3 separate regions of the Homo sapiens genome follow, and all the other regions are linked to region 3. Evidence: promoter capture Hi-C in 16 types of primary human blood cells and fetal thymus (Javierre and others, 2016). All regions are on one chromosome and are shown on one strand. Each heading gives the region's core, a stretch centred on a gene start or on the middle of the fragment in contact. The rest is flanking DNA. Distances are from core to core; before and after follow the strand shown.

Region 1 (4,551 bases), core at 59-2,558, 35 kb before region 3:
ATCGAGAGGAGAGGGATGCCTATAACTTGAGGGTTACAGCCACAGACTCAGGCTCACCTCCACTGCGGGCTGAGGCTGCCTTTGTGCTGCACGTCACTGATGTCAACGACAATGCACCTGCCTTTGACCGCCAGCTCTACCGACCTGAGCCCCTGCCTGAGGTTGCGCTGCCTGGCAGCTTTGTAGTGCGGGTGACTGCTCGGGATCCTGACCAAGGCACCAATGGTCAGGTCACTTATAGCCTAGCCCCTGGCGCCCACACCCACTGGTTCTCCATTGACCCCACCTCAGGCATTATCACTACGGCTGCCTCACTGGACTATGAGTTGGAACCTCAGCCACAGCTGATTGTGGTGGCCACAGATGGTGGCCTGCCCCCTCTAGCCTCCTCTGCCACAGTTAGCGTGGCCCTGCAAGATGTGAATGATAATGAGCCCCAATTCCAGAGGACTTTCTACAATGCCTCACTGCCTGAGGGCACCCAGCCTGGAACTTGCTTCCTGCAGGTGGGTAGGCCTGGCACATAGCAAGATAGTGTTGGGGGAATCTGAGAGCCACAGGGGACCTCAGAGCAGGAACCAAGCCTTACAAGGTCATCTGTTGATGGTGACTTATGCTAGAGGGTTCTGCCCTATGTTGTAAGCTCCAAAATCTGTGCAGAGGATGAGGGTTAATGAGAAGATGAGAAAGCAGGGTGCAAGAGCTGAGGCAGATGGTCTTGGCAGGTGAGGAAATTAAGATTGGATCTAGTGGAGAAATGATTTGTGGTGTCAGGAAATGAAAGCCTCAAAGCTGTTCTGCAGGGCAGAGATGGAGATTCTACATACGTATGTGGCTTCTGTTCCCCAAAGAAGACACCAGAATTTATGGGGCCCTCCATTGCTTGTCAAGTGCTGGGTTGTGCTGGAAGAAATCCTCATCCCTGCCCTCAGAGCTGAGCCTTAATAGGCCATTTGGTCTCAGACATGAGAATGAGAGATAGCAAGAATTATCTCAATATCCAGAGCAGGAAGGCCTCTCAGGGGAAGAGGCAGGAACCCTGGACAGGCTGAGAAAGACACATACTGGCTGCAAGTCAGTCCTGGAGAAATGGAGGGAACATGAAACTGGAAAGGCACTCTGAGGCCAGGTTGCAGAAGTCCTTGAACACAAAGCAGTAGTTAGGACTACTTGGGAAGCAAAGGAGCTCACTGAACTTCTTTTTTTTTTTTTTGAGGCGGAGTCTCGCTCTGTTGCCCAGGCTGGAGTGCGGTGGCATGATCTGGGCTCACTGCAAGTCTGCCTCCTGGGTTCACGCCATTCTCCTGCCTCAGCCTCCCAAGTAGCTGGGACTACAGGCACCTCCACCACACCCAGCTAATTTTTTGTATTTTTAATAGAGACGGGGTTTCACTGTGTTAGCCAGGATGGTCTTGATCTGCCCTCGAGGAGATCACTGAATTTCTTTGAGCTGGGAAGTGAATGATCAGGTTGGGTTTTATTAAGTTAGCTATCTGGCTTTAAGGGTGATTGGATCAGCAGGTGTGTGACAGATCGTTCCTTGATTCATATGTTCAAGATTTTATTTAACTACTGTAAGCCTAGCACTGTGCTAGGCCCAGAGAACAAAGAAAAGAGACAATCCTGTTCCCAGGGTGGTCACAGTCTAGATAGGGAGACACATCAGCAACTAGTGCTGCAGCAGGTGGCGTATGAGTGCTGTGGAAGCCCAGAGGAGGGGCCTTGAAGAACTAATGAAACTTTGCCAAATGGATAATATGAGGTGTGCAGATGGAGACTCCAGGCCTAAGGAAAGAGCTGCTGAACAAATACCAGGACGTGTTCAGGAGACTGTATTGTTCAGGCTGGCATCAGCTGTACTAATGAGAAAGAGTCGGGGGAGATGAGAAAAGACAGTAGACAGGAGCCAGGTCACAAATTCAACTTTATCTTGAAAATCATAGGGAGCAAGTGAAGGACTCTAAGCAAATCTGATATGTCTTTAAGAAAGATTGCTTTGGCTGCACTGTGGAGAATGGCAGCAGGAGAGAGGACAGTGGGCAGGGAGTCCTCTTAGGAGGCTGGTGCTTAGTGTCCTTATGTCTCCAAACTCCACCAGACTCTTGAACATCTCCTCAGGGCATAGACTTCCAGGCTAGCTCTGGGCCTGGCTGACCTCTTGTCCTCTGGCCAGACTCTGCATATTTGCTCGCCTGCTGCTGTGCAGCTCCACCACCCACTCTTCCACGTGTTTACTCTCCTTCTTGTCCAGGACCAATGGGCTATGGCTTCCAGACTTCTCTCCTCACTAGTGCCTGAAGCAAGAGGGCAACTCTCCAGGTGGTTTCCTGGAGTTTTTACTATTAGTAACCATAGAGAATCGGGGTAAAAATGACCATTTGGGGTTTACAACTGTCACAAGAAGTCTTAATGTTTGATTTATTCAATATACATGTATTGAATGTCTACCATGTGCTAGTCACTGTATTAGAGACACGGAATACAGTCATGAATGCGTCACTCCCCTCATCTTAAGGAGTTTATAGAGGGGAGATTCATGTGCAAAGAAATAGTTTCATTCCAATAAGAACATTTCCATTTGGGGATATATATGAGGTACAGATAGGCAGTATGAGTGCTTTCCTGAAGGAAGGGATCCCTGAGTTGAGACTTAAAGAATGAGCAATTTATGAGAGTATCAGATGGGGGAAGGCTTCCAAGCAGAGGTGAGGTGCACAGAGGTGTGGGAGGGCCCAGTTTGTTCAAGGGCCTACTAGGGGCTCAGGATCTCTGGAGTTAAGACTGGAGATGGGAAGGTGGGAGATGAGACTGCAGGGAGGCTCAGCCAAGTCAGAGGGTTTGAGCTTTTTTCTATAGCAATATTATCAGATTTGTTTATGCAAATGGTAGTCAATGTAGAGCAGTGGTTCATAACCAGGGGTGACTTTGCCCCCCAGAAGGGATATTAGCAATATCTAGAGAAATTTCTGATTGTCACAATGGGTGGGAGACTATTGGCATCTAGTGGGTAGAGGCTGAGAATGCTGCTAACCATCCTGCAAGGCACTTAGCAGCTCCCATAATAAAGCATTATCTGGTCCAAAATGTCAGTAGTGCCAATTTGAGAAACCCTGGTGGAGAGTACAGATCAGAGGGTCAGACCTCTATGAGAAGGTAATCAAAATAATGCAGGGGAGCAATAACTCAGGACAGCTCAGGCCTAAGTCAGAATGGTGATAATGGTGATGGAAAGGAACAGACAAATAGAGTTAATGAGGACTTACTTAATCCCTGGTTGATTGATATACCAGGTGAGAAAAGGGAAGAACTGATTTCTGGCTTTAGCAACTGTGTGGATGGAAGAGTCATTAGAGCAGGTTTGGAATGATCATGAGTTTAGTTTTGGGCTGGTCGGATTTAGGGTGCCTGTGGGACATCCAGGTGGAGGTGCTGAGCAGCCATCTGGATGTAAAAGTTGGGAAATCTCAGAGGAGTGGTCTAGAGTGAAAGTATAGACGATGGCTGAAGTAAAAGGCAAGGCCCTGAGAGAATGTGTGGAGTGAGAAGAGGCCAAGGAGAGATTCCAGGGAACAGTGTGTAAGAACAGGCAGATAAGGGGAGATGGAGGAAGACTGGCAGTGGGTGGTGGGGGAAGCAGTGGGTGGAGAAGCAGGAAAAGTAGCATCAAGAAGTCATAGCAGGAGAGATGGGCATGGTGATGCATCCCTGTAATCCAAGCTACTCGGGAGGCTGAGGCAGGAGGATTACTTGAGCCCAAGAGTTCCAAACCAGCCTGGACAACATAGTGAGAGCCTGTCTTAAAAAATAAATAAAGGCCAGGCACAGTGGTTCACGCCTGTAATCTCGGCACTTTGGGAGGCCAAGGTGGAAGGACTGGTTGAGGCCAGGAGTTTGAGACCAGCCTGGGCAACATAGTGAAACACTGTCTATGCAAAAAATAAAAAAACTAGCCAGGCATGGTGGTGCACGCCTGTAGTCCTAGTTGTTCCGGAGGCTAAGGCAGGAGGATTGCTTGAGCCCAGGAGTTCGAAGTTGCAGTGAGCTAGGATCACACCACTGCACCCCAGACTGGGCAACAGAGAGCCTGTCTCAAAAATAAATTAAATAAATAAATAATTTATGTTTTGAAAAGTCAAAGCAGGAGGTACACCTGGAAAAGAGGTTGGGATAGGCATATGGAGTAAGTTTCGAGGCTAGTAAGAAGTTTAGAGAGTTCACAGATAAGTGTCTTTCTTTTCTCCTTGAAATAGTGCATCTGATGAGAGCAAGGGATGGGATGGGGGCAAGAGAAGAGGGATGAAGTTTATTATGGCTTTGGGGCAGAATGGGAGAGGGAGCCGACCAAGGTCGGACTGAGACGCTGAGCTGAGAATCTGCTGAAAATGGAGACTGTATTTGCAGTGAAACCTCTGAGCAGGGGTTGTACAGGCCAGGAAATTCACTTCTGCCTTGCTCATTTCCAGTCAGTGGCCCCTGTGCCTTTTGGGGTCACTTCCTGACAACTTCCCCAGACCACTGTTTATTGCTTTCTTCCTGCAGCGAGTCAGAGGG
Region 2 (4,225 bases), core at 909-3,408, 52 kb after region 3:
CCAGATGTTCCAGCACCATTTTTTGAAAAGGCTATCCTTTCCCCCATTGAATTATCTTGGCACATTTATTAAAAATCAACTGGCCACATATGACTATATATCAGATTTTCTGTTCTATTCCATTAGTCCATATGTATATCCTTATACCAATACCACACTCTCTTCATTACAACAACTGTATAGCAAGTTTTAACATCACTAGTGTAGGTGTCCCAACTTTGTTCTTTTTCAAAGTTGCTTGGCTGCTCTAGATCTTTTGCATTGCTATATAAGTTTCAGAATAAGACTGTCAACTTACCAAAAAAAAATCTGTTAAGATTTAGCTTGGCATTGCATTGAATCTATAGATCATTTGGGGGAGAATGAAGACCTTAATGATACTGACTCTTCTGATCCATGAACATCATATATTTCTCCATTTATTTACATTTCCTCTATCTCAGCAATATTTAGTCATTTTCAGTGTACAGATCTTGAATGCTTTTAATTAAATTTATTCCTAAGTATTTTATGCTTTTAAATGACTTTTAAGTGATATTTTAAAATTTCAATTTCCAATGTTTTGTTACTAGGATATAGAAGTACAAATGATTTCAATGGATTGATTCTGTATCCTGTGACCCTGATGAATTAACTTATTTATTGTAGTAGTTTTTTATGGGGTTTAAAAAAATATTCCTTTGGGGTCTCTATGTAGACAATCATATTACATGCCAATACAGACAGTTTTAACTTGTCTTTTCTAATTTTAAAAGCTTTTATTTCTTTTTCTTAATTGCGTCGATGTGGTCTCCAGTACAGTGTTGAATAGAAGCAGTGAGTATGTTCTTGCCTTTTAACTGATTTTAGGGGGACAGTATTCAATATTTAACCATTAAGTATGTATTTAGCTGTAAGTATAATAGATGCTTTTCATCAAATTGAGAAAGTTATCTTCTATTCCTAGTTTCCTGGGAGTTATGGAATAGTGTTGGAATTTTGTCAAGTGATTTTTATCTACTAATATTACTTACTCATTTGCTCCTTTATTCTGTTAATGTGAGCTACACTGATTGATTTTTCAATGTTTAGTCAGCTTTGCCTTCCCAGGATAGACTCCGTTTGGTCTTAAGATATTATTCTTTTTGTATGTTGCTGAATTTTATTTAATAATATTTCAGTGAGGATTTATTTTTGCATTTAGGTTTATGAAAGATAACAGTTTATTTCTTTGCTTGAAATGTCTTCATCATGGCTTAGTATTCTCCATTTTCTGAAAAAGTATATATAAGTTGTACTTTTTTTCTAAATATTTGATATAATTCAACTGTATAACCATCTGGGACTGGAAACATTTATTATGCATTCAAACTTTTCTTAGGTATGAGGCTGTTCATTTTCTATTATTTTTCTTCTTTTGTTCAAGCTTTGACAAGTTATGTTTTTGTAAGGCATGTGATATGGTTTGGCTCTGTGTCCCCAACCAAATTTTGTCTTGAATTGTAATCCCCATATGTTGAGGGAGGGACCTGGTGGGAGGTGAGTGGATCACGGGGCCGGCTTCCCCCATGCTGTTCTCATGATAGTGAGCAATTTCTCATAAGTTCTGATGGTACATCTCTTCACCCCACCCCGCCCCCGCCAACTGCTATGTAAGATGTGCCTTGCCTCCCCTTCGCCTTTTGCCACGACTTTAAGTTTCCTGAGGGCTCCCCATCCATGCGGAACTGTGAGTCAATTAAACCTACTTATATATATATATTTTTTGGGACGAAGTTTTGCTCTTGTCACCCAGGCTGGAGTGCAATGGCGTGATCCTGGCTCGTTGCAACCTCTGCCTCCCAGGTTCAAGCGATTCTCCTGCCTCAGCCTCCCAAGTAGTTGGGATTACAGGTGACCCCCACCACACCCAGCTAATTTTTGTATTTTTAGTAGAGATGGGGTTTCACCATGTTGGCCAGGCTGGTCTCAAACTCCTGACCTCAAGGGATCAACCTGCCTCAGCCTCCCAAAGTGCTGGGATTACAGGCGTGAGCCACCATGCCTGGCCTAACCCTCTTTTCTTTATGAATTACCCAGTCTCAAGTAGTTCTTTATTGCAGTGTGAAAACAGACTAATACAGCATGTATCCATTTCACCTAAGTTGCTAAATTTATTAGCATAAAGTTTTTCATAATTTTCCCTTATTATCCATTTTTTAAAACTTTTTTTTTTAAATGAGGGTCCCACTATGCTGCCCAGGCTGGTCTTGAACTCCTGGCCTTAAGAAATCCTCCTGCCTAAGCCTCCCTCCCTAGTAGCTGGGATTACAGGTGCATGCCACCATGCCTGGCTCCCCTTTTTTTTTTTGGAGACGGAGTCTCGCTCTGTCACCAGGCTGGAGTGCAGTGGTGCAAATCTCAGCTCACCGCAACTTCCACCTCCCTGGTTCAAGCAATTCTCCTGCCTCAGCCTCCCGAGTAGCTGTGATTACAGGTACATGCCACCATGCCCAGCTAATTTTTGCATTTTTAGTAGAGACGGGGTTTCACCATGTTGGCCAGGATGGTCTCCATCTCCTGACCTCGTGATCTGCCCTCCTTGGCCTCCCAAAGTGCCGGGATTACAGGCGTGAGCCACAGTGCCCGGCCCTGGCTCCCTTTTTATCCTTTTAAATATCTTTAATAAAACCTCTTTCATTCCTGATATTCAAAATTTATGTTTTCCTTTTCATTTCTTGATTTGTGTTAATAGGCGATTGTCAATTTTATCTTTTTCAAAGAAACAAAATATGGCTTTGTTGATATTCTCCATTGTTTGTATGTTTTTCTATTTCACTGATTTCTGCTCTGTTCTTTATTATTGATTTCCTTTTAATTGCTTTGGGTATAACTTGCTCTTCTTTTTCTAGAGTCTTAAGCTGAAAATTTAGGTCATTGATTCCAAGCTTTTCTCTCTAAGATAGATATTTAAAGCTATAACCTTTAGTTGCATCTCACAAATTTTGATATGTTTTGTTTTCATTATTATTTAGTTCAAAACATTCTCTAATTTCTCTTGTAATTTCTTTTTTGGTACATTATTTAGAAGTGTGTTAATTTTAAAGAATTTGGAAATTCTCTAGGCATCTTATCAATATTTGTATTGTTATGGTCAGATAAAATATTATTTAAAATGTTAATCCTTTGAAATTTGTTGAGACTTATTTTGTAACCCAGCATATGGTCTATCTTGGTGAATGTTTCATGTGCATTTGAAAAGAAGGTGCATTTTGCAGTTGGTGAGTATAATGTTTTGTAAATGTCAGTGTGTTGCTAGTGTTATTCAGATCTTTAATGTCCCTACTTTCTTGCTCCTTGTCTTATCAGTTATTGTGAGAGGCATATTAATTTCTTAATATGATTTCAGATTTACTATGTCTCTTTTGTTTCTATTGGCTTTTTTTCCCTATACTTAAATGTCTATTTTAGGTGTGGACACATTTAAGACTTTTGTCTTTCTGATGAGTTGAATCTTTCAATTATGAGATGTCCTTTTCTATCTCTGGTAATATCCTTTGTCTTAAAGTGCTTTGGTATTAATATTGCCACATCAACTTCCTTATGCAAACTATTTCTGTAGTAAATATTTTGCATTAAAAACTTCTTTTAATCTATCTGTGTTTTTATATTTAAAGTGCATCTTTTGGACAGCGTACAGCTATATAGATCTCAGGGTCAGTTTCTATTCTATTGCTTGCTTCTTCTTGACAGCAGGTCACATTATTTTCTGGGGGTTTTTGTTGGCATGTCTATTTATTTTTTATTTTATACTGGATGTTCTGGTGGTTGTCACTCAAGGACACCTTTTACATTCTGCCAGCAGTAATATTCTTCACTCTACAATGTTGCTGAAGTCTCTTCTCAGCTGAAATCTCTTCATATATCTGACTGTACCACTCTTTACTCCTTCTATTGTCTCTAATTTTGTGCAAATTCATTGCAAAGACCAAATAATATAGCTGGAAGGAACTACAGGTTTTGGAACCAAATAGACTTGAATTTTAATCTTGGTTCTGACACTTCATAGCTAGGGTATCTTGGGCAAGTTCTAAAATCTCTGTCTCTGTTTCTTCATCTTTAAAATAATTGCAAAAATTCCCCATCTTACTTGGCTTTTATGAGCACTGAAGATGACATAGACATATCATAGAGCACATAGTAGATATTCAATAAATTGTACTGGCTATTATTAAGTACGAATACATCTGGTTCAAGTTTTCTACAT
Region 3 (3,619 bases), core at 1,006-3,505:
TGCTGTATCGAGAGCAGAGATTATGTCAGATTCTGGACTCTAGCACCCAGCACAGAAGGTGTTCATCATAGTGCCTTAAATTAAGGAACCCAATGTAGTCTGATTTCTTCACCCATTATTCTGAAACAACACTCACAGATGGTCAAATACATCCTAACTGCACACTGAGGGGAGCAACAGACACTGGGGCCTACCAGAGTGGGGCGGGTAGGAAGAGGGAGGGATCAGGAAAAATAACTAATGGGTGCCACGGCTTAATACCTGGGTGATGAAATGATCTGCACAACAAACCTCCATGACCTGAGTTTACCCATCCAACAAACCTGCACATGTACCCCTTAACTTAAAAAAAAAAAACCCAACTGTAAATTCAATGGCTACTTTAAAATATTAATGTTCTTTGATCTCTCAGTAGCCTGTACTGCCGTTGACTACCTCCCCTTCATTAAAACATTCTCTTCTGTAAGCTTTACTCACACATTTTCCTATTTCTTTTTCAACTTGCGGTTGCTCCTTTTCTGTCGTGCAGGCTTCCTGTCCCCTGACCTCTTGCCTTCCACTCTCCTGAGACGTTCTCCTTCACAACCACGTCTTCAAGTATCATCTATATATATGATATATATATGCTATCTATATGCTGATAGCTCTCAAATCTGTGTCTCCAAGTCAGATTCCTCCCCTGAATTGCAAATCTGCATAACCAACAACACACTCAACATTTCCACCTTGCTGTATTGTCACCTTAACTTTAACATGTCCAAAATAAAATGCCTCATCCTCCAGTTTTCTCCATCTCAGTAAAAACAACCAAGTTCCCAAGCCAGAACCCTGGTCCTCATCTTTGCCCTTACTCACTCCCCACACCAAGTTCCACAATTCTTCGTCCTAAAGACTTCTGGAATTTGATCACTTCTCTTTTTCACTCACCCTAATTCTAGTCCAAGACATCATTACTTCTACGATGAACTAGGCAATTGCCTCCTTTCCACCTGCTCTTCACAAAGCATCCAAGACGATACTGAAAAATGGACAATCTCATTATGTCACTATACAGCTTTAAAACCTTGCTTTTAAAATAAAGACCTTCTTATAGCCTAAATATGCTTGCATGATCTGGCTGATCCTTGGAGACCTCTACAGTCTTATGTCCTGTTCTTTTCCTCTTGTACCCAATGCTCCGACCCACAGAGATCATCTATCCTCCAGCCATATGGAACTCCAGACAATTTCCTGTTCTCTCTGCTCTGTGCCTTGCCCCCTAGCCTTTGGCCATGCAGTCTACTGAGGCTGGAAAGCTCTCTGTAGCCTCTGCCTGTGAAACTCTTATTCTGCAGTCAAGATTCAGCTCAAACTGCGTCCTCTGTGAAAACCCTCTGCCCCCCACAGGCTATGCTTAGCACTCATTACACTGGCTAGCAAAGGCAGCCGCCACCACCAGACATGAGCACTCCACTCCACGTAGCCAGGAGATCTCTAGCCTTCCTCTCATCCACCAACCGTTTCAGCTCACCCCTGGTTGAGGTCGTTCTCCGTGTTGTCCAGCCACAGGCGAACGGCGACTGCGTTGCCCTCCCGGCACTGAGTGAAAATGTCGTCCATAGCAGCGTCCCGGCGCCGAGTCCCCTGGATTGGGGAAGCCTGAGGACTGTGGAGTGATCCAGGGAAGGAGGATGAACCCCAAGCTTTATCCTCTACAGGAGAGAAGTGTTTGTGTTGGGGGTAGGGGGCCTGAGCTGCGTCCCCGGCTAGTGGGGGTCTGTGAAGGAGTTCGGGGCTGCGGGATGATCCCTGGCTGTGTCCTCTAGACGCGAGGTAAAGGCGGGTCAGGGTGGGCAGGGGGTGACGAAGAGGTAGTGTCTGCTGAACGGATGTCCGAGAGCAGGCAACTAGACCCTATCCGCGAACAGAGTTGGGGGAAGTGGGGAGGTTCAGGCTCCGTATACTCTGGGAGAGGGGACCGGGGGTCCTCCCCAGGGTTGGCTCCGTTCCTTACTTGGGACTCAGGAGAAGTGAGGGGTGACAGGGGGCGCGGGTCCTCTCGCACTCACCGGGACTCGGGCTGCAGGATCCTTCTCCGGGGAACTCCCGTCCGGCCGCGCCCGCAGCCCGCCGCCGGCCCCGCCCCGCCCGTGGCGCTCTTGGGCAGCGCGGGCCTCCGTCCCTCCCCTCCCACCGCCTCCCTGCCCTTCTAGCCGCGCCTGGCTAAACTCGATGGTTCGCTGCGCCGCGCCGGCCGCTCTAGCAACCCCTGGCTGTCACGCTTTGGTTTCCGGGTCGGTTCTGGCAGGTCTGAGCGCTCCGACTTCCAGAGGAGCGCTGTGCACGTGGAGAAGAGCGGGGACTCGGCGACCCTGCCCTCCCGACCCTCATGTTCGAAGAGCCTGAGTGGGCCGAGGCGGCCCCAGTAGCCGCGGGCCTTGGGCCCGTAATCTCACGACCTCCGCCTGCGGCCTCCTCGCAAAACAAGGTGAGTGACTCGCGGGAGCAATGGGAGCTGTTTCAGGCCGCGAAGCGGACATTGGTGGATCCCAGCGCTGTGTGTATTGCGGGGAGGGACACCTGTGGCACCGTTAAGGGCGAGTCCTGATCTGAAGATCCGAGAACTTCCAAAAGAAACTGACGTTGGGTCAGAGAGAGTTGTTGAGTAGAAGTTGGTGAAGCGAAGAGGGTTCTTCAGACAGGAAAAAGTACGTACAAGGGCCCTGGGACAAGAGAGCATGTTCTGTCAGAGTCACAAACACAAGTGGTCCTTGTGGTTGAAATACATAGTAAATGAAAGGGGCATATATGCTGTTCAAGTTCAAGAGGTAGAAGTTTTGCGTATATTGAGAATAGAAGCCAATGAAAGGTTTTAAGCAATGGAATTATTTCTTCAGATTTGTATTTTGAAAGGGTCGTCGGTTACAGTGTGGAGGATGGATTGGAGACAGTAAGAGTTGTCAGTATCATTGTTCAAAGGAGGGTGTGGGAAACTTAGAATCAGGGTAAGTGCCTGGCCTAGGATTACCTGGTAGGACTGCAACACAGAATCAGCCTTCCCGACAATACATCTTCTCCTTTGAGCCTCTGCAGATGTGAGGGCCCTGCTTCCTCAGGCTTTTCTTACCCTTCAGTCTGCCTCCAACATGGAATCGGCCTGCTTTGTTTCCTCCTTTTTCATCCCCTAGCCCCATTACCATTGTCCAAGCCGCTGGCCTCTCTGTCTGCAATTTCTCCCCTTCAGTTTGTTTTCTACACTGCAGCTAGAGACATGTTAAATATTTAATATACGTGTGTGATCATGTGTCTCCTGTGTTCAGAAGCCTCCTTACCTCTTACAGAAATGTATCAGCTCTAGGCAAAAGCTCAAGGTGAAGGGTTGGAATTCCTGGTCTCTGGCCTTGGTCTTGTTGCTTGTGGCCTTTGCATTTTCCTTTGGGGAAACCTCCATTAGCTCATTTACACATTGAAGAAAGTGGGATAGGTGGTTTCTCTGCTCTCCAGCTTCCCAGAAGTTGGGGTGGTGACATAAAAGTTCTTCTGGGTTCTGGCAGGCTTGACTGGGAAGAATTCAGATGCTTCTGCCAGTCTGAATCAGGTCCACATCTCTCCCTTCTTGTTCTCCAGGCCTCATCCATTC

The links. The method cuts DNA at HindIII sites, captures the fragments that hold promoters and counts their contacts. A CHiCAGO score of 5 or more calls a contact.
Region 1: a contact is called between a fragment that was not itself captured here and the fragment with the promoter of RRP8 in region 3, in 5 of 17 cell types (activated CD4 T cells, non-activated CD4 T cells, total CD8 T cells and 2 more). The highest score is 5.8, in activated CD4 T cells.
Region 2: a contact is called between a fragment that was not itself captured here and the fragment with the promoter of RRP8 in region 3, in 1 of 17 cell types (erythroblasts). The highest score is 6.0, in erythroblasts.

What each region holds. Positions count from the first base shown.
Region 1 is chr11:6,635,772-6,640,322 of GRCh38, reverse strand. DCHS1 (dachsous cadherin-related 1) reads left to right here. Exons shown (of 21, transcript NM_003737.4): 2 at 1-506. Among named protein-coding and RNA genes, the nearest start is that of DCHS1, 18 kb to the left of the region's middle. The HindIII fragment of the contact is 8,749 bases long and covers 1-4,551 here.
Region 2 is chr11:6,550,046-6,554,270 of GRCh38, reverse strand. The region is part of intron 24 of DNHD1 (dynein heavy chain domain 1); the gene reads right to left. Among named protein-coding and RNA genes, the nearest start is that of RRP8, 51 kb to the left of the region's middle. The HindIII fragment of the contact is 1,501 bases long and covers 1,408-2,908 here.
Region 3 is chr11:6,602,252-6,605,870 of GRCh38, reverse strand. RRP8 (ribosomal RNA processing 8) reads left to right here and starts at 2,255. Exons shown (of 7, transcript NM_015324.4): 1 at 2,255-2,467. The coding sequence starts at 2,369. It overlaps ILK (integrin linked kinase), which reads right to left and starts at 2,097. Exons shown (of 13, transcript NM_004517.4): 1 at 2,049-2,097; 2 at 1,511-1,691. The coding sequence starts at 1,599. RefSeq lists enhancers at 1,076-1,235, 1,466-1,705, 2,296-2,485, 2,481-3,022 and a silencer at 2,016-2,225. The HindIII fragment of the contact is 3,835 bases long and covers 1,685-3,619 here.